2 separate regions of the Homo sapiens genome follow, and region 2 is linked to region 1. The links are contacts of gene promoters, found by promoter capture Hi-C in human tissues and cell types (Jung and others, 2019). All regions are on one chromosome and are shown on one strand. Each heading gives the region's core, a stretch centred on a gene start or on the middle of the fragment in contact. The rest is flanking DNA. Distances are from core to core; before and after follow the strand shown.

Evidence for each region. Contacts are between HindIII fragments. The study calls those that stand out against the background at their distance.
Region 2: a contact is called between a fragment that was not itself captured here and the fragment with the promoter of CAPZA3 in region 1, in 2 of the 25 tissues and cell types used here (hippocampus and mesenchymal stem cells).

The regions. Positions count from the first base shown.
Region 1 is chr12:18,735,740-18,741,091 of GRCh38, reverse strand. It overlaps CAPZA3 (capping actin protein of muscle Z-line subunit alpha 3), which reads right to left and starts at 2,973. Exons shown (of 1, transcript NM_033328.3): 1 at 1,904-2,973. The coding sequence starts at 2,823. The coding sequence ends at 1,924. It overlaps PLCZ1 (phospholipase C zeta 1), which reads left to right and starts at 3,080. Exons shown (of 15, transcript NM_033123.4): 1 at 3,080-3,160; 2 at 3,583-3,731; 3 at 4,748-4,871. The coding sequence starts at 3,721. The HindIII fragment of the contact is 1,043 bases long and covers 2,518-3,560 here.
Region 2 is chr12:19,276,802-19,282,153 of GRCh38, reverse strand. All of the region lies in intron 11 of PLEKHA5 (pleckstrin homology domain containing A5), which reads right to left. It overlaps LOC124902892 (a long non-coding RNA gene), which reads left to right and starts at 3,268. Exons shown (of 3, transcript XR_007063235.1): 1 at 3,268-3,357. The HindIII fragment of the contact is 8,203 bases long and covers 1-5,352 here.

The sequences.
Region 1 (5,352 bases), core at 1,724-4,223:
AATGGCCTTCACTGGGCTATGGTTTTGTGGGAAATGATTTTAATTAAGTAAAGAGAAAGCACAGGACATGCTATTTTAAGATTAGGGAACATTTCTTAAAATGTGGCCCTGAAATATTTTGCATCAGTGTAACCTCTGATACTTGCTAAAATGCAGATTTCCCAGCCTACTAAATCAGAATCCTAGGATGGGCCCCAGTAATGTATATTTTTAAAGATAAATCCCAGGTTATTCTCCTGAGATTCTCTAAGAATCATCAGCTGGGGAGGTTTGAGGTTTAGAAATTCTTGCACGGGATCTGAATGCTCCAATGTTAATAAGTAGAATTAGAACTGTTTTTCAATTGCATAAACACAAAATACAAAACACTTTGCTTCTTAGATAAATCAGAATTGGAGGATGGGGCCTACCTACTGCTGTACTGTAATCTTGTTAAAGAGTTTTACATTTGGGAATTTATTGAAAGAGCAGATACCAGTGGTCAGTAACATTGCTAGGAATAGTGGTAGGGTGAGTGTATAGGTGATTTACTCTGGCTAGAAAACAGCTGTCACAAGTTCCATTTCTTCTGGGATATCCTTTAAGGTGGAATGCTTGGCAAAATCAATGTACATCAGAGTCCATAACTCATAATGAAATAGGCTTCCATGGGGAACTGTTGTACCCTGAAGCATGAGCACTAAGTCAGATACACTTGTCACTATGTGGTACGGTCTGATTGTTTGTGTCCCTCAAAATTTATATGTTGAAACTGAGTCCCCGAGGTGATGGTATTAGGAGGTGAGGACTTTGGGAGGTGATTGGCCATGAGAGTGGAGCCCTCATAAACGATATTAGTGCCATTAATAGAAGTTCTACAGAGCTGCTTTGCCCCTTTTACCATGTAAGGTCACAGTCAGAAAGTCCTATCTATGAGGAAACACACCTTTACTAGGCACTAAATCTGCTAGCAACTTGGTCTTGGACTTCACAGCCTCCATAACTGCGACCAATAAATTCCTGTTATTTGTGAGTTACTCAATATATGGTATTTTGTTATAGCAGCACAAGTGAACTGTGACACTATGTGTCTGGAAGATGTGAACAACTTGAGAACTTAGGTTTTTCTTAGGTACAACGGAGATAATACTAGTACCAGATTAGTGATGAAAAATGTTATGCAAAATATTTAGCACAAGCCATGTTATGTAATAAGTACTTCTAAGTGTTTACAGTGACGACTTCACAAAAGCCTGGCTGTAAAAGTTTGGGAAGTCAGGCTTCTCTGGTTGGCTTGGAAGACCATGTTAGTTATCAGACAAGCCAGGGATTTTGAGTAACCCCAATTCTTGAGGGGAAGAAAGTAGAGTGGAAGAGGAGCCAAAATTACTAATAGTCCTTCATCTGAGCTAGATTTTTGATATCTGTTGGTTTTGTGGAAAATCCAAACCTAATGTCTTTTATTGAAATTCCCCATCTCGTGGATGGTCTAGGACTGAATTGAGTTATGTAAAATATCATTTGTGGAGTGATATTCATTTGTATACCTTTTCAGTTCGAAACAGTCAAAAGTCTCTCTCTCTCTCTCTCTCTCTCTCTCACACACACACACACACACACACACACACACGTACACACCCACACACAGCCTTAACCCTGGCCACCTCTATACTATTTCTGGAATCCCAGATTCTATAAAACTATTTTAGTTTCTAACAAATGTCTTGGTCTTTATGATGGTCACCACCATGAAACACAGTTACTTTACACTTTCTTGCCTTGTTCATAAATATTCCCCAAGTAAAATTACTTGCTACACTTTTCCCATTTAAATTTGCATTGGCTAAGTGAGAGACATCTCTACAGATTGCTCAATTTTAGGAAAATAACCATTCCCAAGAAACACAAACAAGTCAAATCAAGATAGTTACCAGGAGCAATTCTTTATATTATCCAGTTGCACAACACACTTCTTGAATAAATGACATATCCTAATTTAGGATACATCACCAGATTCAAGTCAGAGAGTATCCTGTGCCAGTCAATAAGAGTGCGGGTCACTGGAAGATCCCTTCGTAGAATTTTTCTCAGGGCTTCATTGGATAACTCCTGTAATTCTTCCAAGACTGCAGCTTGAAATTTGTTCTCTTGCTCTTCCACAAGCCTTGCAAAACTTAGAGCCAGTTGAGCTTGGTTAACTATTTCCAAGCTTTCTTTCAGGTCCTTGGATATTTCAATATGAAGGTTGACACACCTGAAGAAGTGAGCTTGCACAAATATTCTTCCCGTTACTTGGGTTAGAAATGGGTTAACTTGGAAAATCCATTTAGATTTCCAAAGTCCGTTCCAGCACTCTCCTGTTTCATAGTTGTGATCTTCAATGCAAGCTATCAAGTACTCCTTACTTTTGACAGTTTTTCTCAGCATGTTGCAATTTCCTTTTGGATAGTGGTCATTCACATACAGTTTTAAGGCGCACAGAAGAACAACTCTCAGGTATTCTGCCTCATTCTGAATGATACCATGACTTTGGATGTCTTTCAGCTGATTTTGAAGCAGGTCATATTTGAAAGAAAGTTTGCTTTGATGGTCAAAAAATCGGTAGTCGCCCATTACATTGTGGTGAGACAAGAGTACTGGATTTCCATCGATGCAGAGTGGTACAGAATATTTTTGGCAGTGTTGGTGGCCTGCACACTCACCTTGGTGGTGCATAAGTTTTTCATCACGGATAAGCAGACAGAGATCATCAAAGGCATTTACAAATTCCCCTGGAGGGGCCTGTAATAACAGTCTGCGAATTACTCTTTCCTTGTCCTTCCTGCTCAGCACGCTAAGTGTCATGTTTGGTTGCAACAGAAGCAAAGCTTCTGAAATGAGGAGTGTTCAAAGGATAAGAAAACATTCCATGAGCCACCTTTCCCATCAAGGTGTTAACATTCAAGCTGAAGGTTTTTATGTCTATCCATGAAAGCAGGCAGTCTGGCAAGGTCTGAGCCTCCTGATGAGGTCATAAGAAGCTTTCCTTGTGAAGTGTGGAACCTCTGATGATATCACAATGGGAATTCAGACCAAAAGGAAAAAATGACAGTCACCTGACAGTGTGGTGCCCAGCCAACCAGCTATACCTCTTTTGAAGATTTTAAGAACTTAGCCTCCTGAACAGTCTTCTTCGAAAGTGGTGTGTCTCTGTGTGCATTATATGTTGTCAACGATCTAGAGAAGCAGCCCAAAGTTTCAAGAGTGACAGCACTTTGCAACTTCAGGAATCACAATGGTGTTGATTTATACTCAGGCTCTCAGAGTAGCTGCCCAAACCCACTGGAAGCATATTATGATGAAAGGTTTGAGGGGTTTAAACAAAGTAGTAAAAAATAAAAGGAGATACAATGGCAGTTCATGGAAAAATGCCAGACATCAGGGAAAGCTGTGTTTTCAAATATTGTGGGTTTGGAGGTGGTCAGAACGTAAGAAGCCAAACAGTTTCAAGGGCAGGGTAGTGCAGGTACCACATCTTGCATACTGTTTCTATGGTTAAGTGTGAGCTAGCTTCAAAGAACGAAGGCAAAAAAAACCACTGTGTGTTCTCTGCTTTCTCCCTAGAAAAGTGGTAACAGCTGATGAGTATCAAGAAATTATTTTCTGCAAAGGGGCAGAGTTAATTGTATTTGGAACCCATGACAGCACCTACTGGGGAAAGACTTCTAAGTGAGGAGAAACGGCTCTACAGGTCATGAAACTATGGAAATGAGATATCCATTGAGAGCTTCTTTCTGCTCCTCTTCTTCTTTCTCCTACTTATCCTCTTTACTTGATGCTGTTATTCTTTTCGAGGAGTTCTGAATTTAAGTCCTCTTCATTTAAGTTGAACTGCTTTTCCCTGTTTGTTCTGAGCTTTTCTAACTTTCCCTGCATTCTGGTATCTTTTTCTTACAAGAACATGAGCTTTGCTGGATTAAGTCATAACTATTAAATTTAAGGAGATCTCATTAATTCGTTCTAACAATCTGAAACTTAGTAGTTTTGCACAATTTTTACCTATACCTTTTATAATTTTAGTGATAATTGTCATTATCTCATTTCGATCTTAGTTTTTCAAATGGAAGTGTCCTAGTTTTTGTAGTTTATCTATGATAAGTAAGCTTTTAAAAATTTTTTTCGTTTTTCATACCAAATATACACTCACCATGGTATTTCTGATGCTTTTTGATGGTACTGTCTTGAGTGTGTGTGTAGCTGGGCATTGGACTAATGTAGTAATAATAACTTTATCAGTCATGGTTACTATTTATTGAACACTAAGTAGCAGAAACTGTGTTCGGTGGCATATTAGGAATTCATCTAATGCTTCCACTTTCCTTAAGATTCAGGGTTAATTTGCTCACCTTTCTGGAAGAGAGAACTAAAACAGAGAGGTCAGGTGAGAGGCGATCTTGAAGTCTAGCTGCCTTCCAACTTCATGCCTTCAGGCAATAGATTGTTATAATGTTTTAATGTATGTTCTAAGTAATGACTTCAATTCTCAAATTTTAACTTTAATTCTTTTTTTTGTATTTTTACTGTGCTATGCCCTTTCATACCTTTACCATAGCATAGTAACTACTTAATTTTGTTTTTTAAAAAATATTTATCATACAATTATACTATAATTTACTTTAAACATATTCTTTAAAAATAAAAATAATACAGTAAATCAAATGTTTCTTTAGGAATTTTAAATATTCAATGACTTTCTGTGAGAATTTCCTTAACTTTTTTGTGCTTCTACATGGTTTTTGTCAAAGATTCAGGATGACTTCAGAGGTGGAAAAATTAACCTAGAAAAAACTCAGAGGTTACTTGAAAAATTAGATATTCGGTGCAGTTATATTCATGTGAAACAGATTTTTAAGGTAAGATGACATCCACCCCCTGCCTATCCTATCCTAGGTGGAACTTAATCCAATGTCAGTAATTGTCATATAAAGGTTAGTCTCTTAAGAAGAAAAGCAATTAATTATACTAACTATATTTACAATCAAGATGGAGAGCATTTCAGTAGAAGGTAAAATTAGTTGTTGAGAAAATCTGAAATAATACCAGGATATCAGTTTAGAATAATTTCCTGAGCATACAGAAATGCTAACATTAAACCTAGGATTGGATGTCTAATTATATCAGACTGATAATGGTAACTGTATTAGATGTTAGTGATTTATAAAAAGAGTGGAGAATAAGCCCAAAGTTAGCAGAAGGGAGGAAATAATACAGATTAGCACAGAAATAACTAAAATAGAAAAGAAAAAAATTAGAAGAAATTGAGGAAACTAAGACTTGTTTTTTTGAAAAGTTAAATAAAATTGACAAATACTTAGAGTAAGAAAAAAGAGAGAG
Region 2 (5,352 bases), core at 1,563-4,062, 540 kb before region 1:
GCACAGAATACTACCATTTCCAAAAATGAAAGAATACAATTTCAGTTTACTATTTTTAAAAAAACCACTTTGGGCCGGGCGCAGTGGCTCACGCCTGTAATCCCAGCACTTTGGGAGGCGGAGGCAGGCGGATCAAGAGGTCAGGAGATCGAGACCATCCTGGCTAACACAGTGAAACCCCGTCTCTTCGAAAAATACAAAAAAATTAGCCGGGCGTGGTGGCAGGTGCCTGTAGTCCCAGCTACTTGGGAGGCTGAGGCAGGAGAATGGCGTGACCCCAGGAAGCCGAGCTTGCAGCGAGACAAGATCGCGCCAGTGCACTCCAGCCTGGGCGACAGAGTGAGACTCCATCTCAAAACAACAACAACAACAACAACAACAACAAAAACCACTTTGATAAACATACTCTTTTGAGTTTATAAAACTATCACAGTGCCAACTTCATACTAGGTGAAATTCATGATATAAAAAAGATTTTTAAAAGTTAGGGGAGAAGTGAGCCAGAAAAAAAAGAATCAATTAAAAACTCTACGTAAAGTTAGCATTTGTGTTTCCCTATTATCTTTTTTTTTTTTTGGAGATAGTGTTTTGCTCTGTTGCCCAGGCTGAAGTGCATTGGCACAATCTCAGCTCACTGCAACCTCCGCCTCTCAGGTTCGAGTGATTCTCCTGCCTCAGGCCCCTGAGTAGCTGGGACTACAGGCACCAGCCACCATGCCCAGCTAATTTTTTGTACTTTTGTAGAGATGGGGTTTTGCCATGTTGCCCAGGGCGATCTCAAACTCCTGAGCTCAGGCAATCTGCCTGCCTCAGCCTCCTAAAGTGCCAGGATTACAGGAGTGAGCGCCTGGCCTCCATTTCCTTTAGATACAGAGGTGTAGGTATAATTCAAATTCTAAATACAAACATACTTTTTTTTTTTTTTTTGAGATGGATTCTCACTCTGTCACCCAGGCTGGAGTGCAGTGGAGTACACTGCAGCCCGGTCCTCCTGAGCTCAAGTGATCTTCCTGCCTCAGCCTCCTAAGTAGCTAGGACTACAGATATATGCCACCATGTGTGGCTAATTTTTTATTTTTCCCAAACGTAACTTTTTAACCACCACCAGAACAAGAAACATCTAGATTAGAAAAAGTAAGATTAGGCTGGGCGTGGTGGCTTGCGCCTGTAATCCCAGTACTTTGGGAGGCTGAGGCAGGCAGATCGCTTGAGGCCAGGAGTTCAAGACCAGCTTGGCCAACATGGTGAAACCCTGTCTCTACTAAAAATACAAAAATCAGCCAGGTGTGGTGACGCACGCCTGTAGTTCCAGCTACTCGGGAGGCTGAGGCAGGAGAATCACTTAAACCTGGGAGGTGGAGGTTGCAGTGAGCTGAAATCGTGCTGGTGACAGACACTCTGTCTCAAAAAAAAAAAAAGAAAAAGAAAAATTAAATTACAAGTATTCATCTTATACAATCATCTCCATAGGCATAAATTTATATCCTAATATCAAAATCAACAGAATTCAATGAACCAAGTATGTGGAAGGGTTGGGACTCCACAAACTCAGGTTTTCTGATCTCTTCTTTCAATGTTTAGTTAACAACTTTTTCCTAATATTACATGGGCTCCTACTGGTTGTGAAAATGTCAGAGATATTGGTAATTACATGGACCCGAAGGGATTAAATATTTGATGGGAAAATCATTTGACCATACTCTTAATAATCTGGGAATCCTTCGCTGATAATCTGGATATAAGAGCTCTCTTTTGACCCAAAGACCTGTCAGTAACAATGCACAAATACTGATATATTATAGTTACAAAAAGATTTCAGGCTGGGTGCAGCGGCTCACCCCTGTAATCCCAGCACTTTGGGAGGCCAAGGCGGGTGGATCACTTGAGGTCAGGAGTTCAACATAGCAAAATCCCGTCTCTACAAAAACTAGAAAATATTAGTCAGGTGTGGTAGCATGCTCCTGCACTCCCAGCTACTCGGGAGGTTGAGGCAGGAGAACTGCTTGAACCCAGGAGGCAGAGGTTGCAGTGAGCTGAGATTGTGCCACTGTACTCCAGCCTGGCCAACAGAGGGATGGCCCTGTCTCCAAAAAAAAAAAAAAAAAAAAAAAAAAAAACAGGTTTCATTGTGATGAATTAAGTGCATTCTGGACTATGAGGCACCTAATTAATAAACTGCCGGCATAATTTGTGTCTATTGGGGCAGTAAAATTATGTTACCTTTACACTAAGAGAAAAATCTCATGTTAAATATACCTTCTCTTTGTGGGTTAAAGCATCCAGAGGGGATATAGTGGGAAAACAGTAAAACAGGAAAAGTGGTTGATCAAAAATCAAGACAGCCAAGTTTTGATTCTTGCTTTCCTATTAAGTACTTAGACCTTGGATGAGTTACATATTCTGGGGCTTTCAGAATATTGGGGGCAGGGTAGGGGAGTAGGGGAGAAAAGACCAAGAGATTTTATATATATATGTATGTATTTTTTTTTTTTTTGAGATGGAGTCTCACTCTGTCGTCCAGGCTGGAGTGCAATGGCATGATCTCCGCTCACTGGACCTGTCTCCCAGGTTCAAACGATTCTCCTGCCTCAGCCTCCCGAGTAGCTGTGATTACAGGTGCCTGCTGCTACACCCAGCTAATTTTTGTATTTTTAGTAGGGACAGGGTTTCACCATGTTGGCCAGGCTGGTCTTGAACTCCGGACCTCAGGTGATCCAACCACCTTGGCCTCCCAAAGTGCCAGGATTACAGGTGTGAGCCACACCTGGTCCAAGAGATCATACTTGGGGTTACAGAAAGAGCTTGCGGGCTAAATAGAACTAAAATGCAGGTCTCCTACTTTCTAAAGCAGCACTCTTTTAACTATGCCAGTGATCCCTAAACTTTTTGATTTTTTAAAAAAATCCCTCTATTTTTAAATTTTGCCACGATATGAATATTATTTTTAAAAAACCATACTCATCTATCACAATGACTTAGTTAAAAATAAAAAGGTATTAAAAATTAGGAAGGATATAATCTTATCGCACCAGAGAGCTCTTTAATATGCTATTAAAATCTAGCCAATGGCCAACTGAAACTGGGATCCTCTTTTCTCATCTAGAAGATGATTTCATCATAAACTTATTCTAGAGCTCTAAAATTCTATGCCTTATTTTGTATTTTAAATATTTCTAATTCTTTCAACCGTTTCTCCTAAACTAAATTTCCTTCATCATGGTGGTTGTTCTTCAGGATTTCAATGTCTCTACTCAAAAAGAGGTTGTTCAAAATTGAACGAAATGTCTCCAGACAAGAACCGCTGCATTCAGGCCAACCATCCGATTCGATGCCTTCGGGGTGGAGAGAGGGAGAAAGGTACCCAATTGCTCTTATATAACCAGTATAAAGAGTTCAATTCCTTGAGGCTTTCCCTCCATGGGTATTTCCTATTTTGTTTCTGCTTGGTCTTCCTCCCCATCTTCACCGTCTCCTATCACACGAAAGCCAGAAACTGGAAAACATCCAGAGCTGGCAATCCCATGACTATGTGCAAATATGTCAGCTAGGGAAAGCTGACTCCATCAAAGAGACTGCCCTAGTACTAAAGCAATTTACTCTGACACACCTTGGTTTGTTTGGTCATTCATAAATTGAAGAAATACTACAGGAGGCTTAATATGCAAAAAGCTAGAGATTAAGCACTGAGCTATATCATAGAAACATGTAAGGAAGGGGACATACATTATCAATCTAAAACACACCCAAAGTTGCTTATAAACTAATATCTAAATTATAGTTCAAAAATATAATTACACTAAAACACTTTTGTCAAGTGCTCTGAAGTATTCATAATGTTTGGGTTGGACCCTGTTGTAGAGACGTATATTGAACCTGAACTGTCAACTATCATATGATCATTAACAGCAGGATATATATATTTTTAGTAAGCTTGCCTAATTAATGACATTAAAAGGCTCTTCTGTCATCTTTGGAACCACATTTGGGGAATTTTAATTAAAAATTAAATTATTATCAAGCAAATTTATTTTTATCCCATATATTTCTAGCACTTTGAGACCTGTTTTTCAAAACTACAATTCCCTTTAGTGACTTTTTTCCCCAAAGAAATTCAAATTAAGCAAAGTGTGATTTACTTTTAACTGAAAGCTTAAGAAATGAACACTCTAAGCTCCTACATCAGATTTAGTGCCCCATTGGCCAGCAGCTGCCTGTCAAGCACCATAAAAGCCCTTTCCCTGTGATTCTGCCATGCAGAACAATGGCTTAAGGACCATGCATCTTAACAGTGCCTGCCACTCAGAATGAAACTTTAAAGCTTTGTTCACAGATGCAGGGATCTACTATTTTGACTAAATATTAAACCTTTTTCTTTCTATCAGAACTTTAATAATAGAAGACTTTCATAAAGCTTTTTAAAAAATGATTTATATATTGAATTACAATTGTTTCATTCCACCAATAAAAAATCATTTCATTATAAAACACTACAACTATTTTTATGATGAAGTTTATATCATAATGTAGATGATATTTTCTTATGATCCAAAGTGGACTCAAGCCATTTCAAAAGAACATCTAAATAACAGTATTTATAAAAACTGGCATAACAGTTAACCCAAAAATGTAGGAGGAACCCAGAGAAAATCTTAGCTCAAAATAACCTAAAACCAGCCTTCAGAAGCTGTTGGTGTATGTCCAAAAGGAAGAAGTCACTGAAAGACTTTACTGATATTAATTACACTCATAAAGGAACCTAAAACTAGTATTTATACTTCACAATTTTTAAAAATCCTCTAATTTCCAGATATCTGTTGACTCTCTCTATACACTTTTAAACTTAAGAAAGTATGATTTTCGGGGAAAAGTGATTCTTCTTTGAAGTAAGATTTAACTTGGTGAGCAGAGACGCACCAATCTTCTGATTTGGATTTTTATAATTTTTCTGAAAGTGATTACTTTCCCAAGTACTTCCAAACATCCTTTCATTTTTTTCCCCCCAGACCTGCTTCCTGCTTCTTTTCTGTCTAATCACATTGTATTAATTTATTTTCCTGCTAGTAATATATAAGCTTATTCATGTCTGTCATTCCATCCAACATTAAGTAATCTAATTTTTATTCATCTATGCCTTAATTCTTTTATTTATGATTTTGGTCAATCTGGTAAGTGAAAAATAATGCCTAATTGTTTCTTTAATGTGCAATTCCCTGATTACTGGTAAATTTGAGCATCTGCCAGTTTCCTTTTTAAAGAAAATTGACAAATAAGATTATATATATTTATGGTGAACAACATGTTTTGAAATATGTATATTGTGGAATGGCTAAACCAAGCTAATTAACATATGTA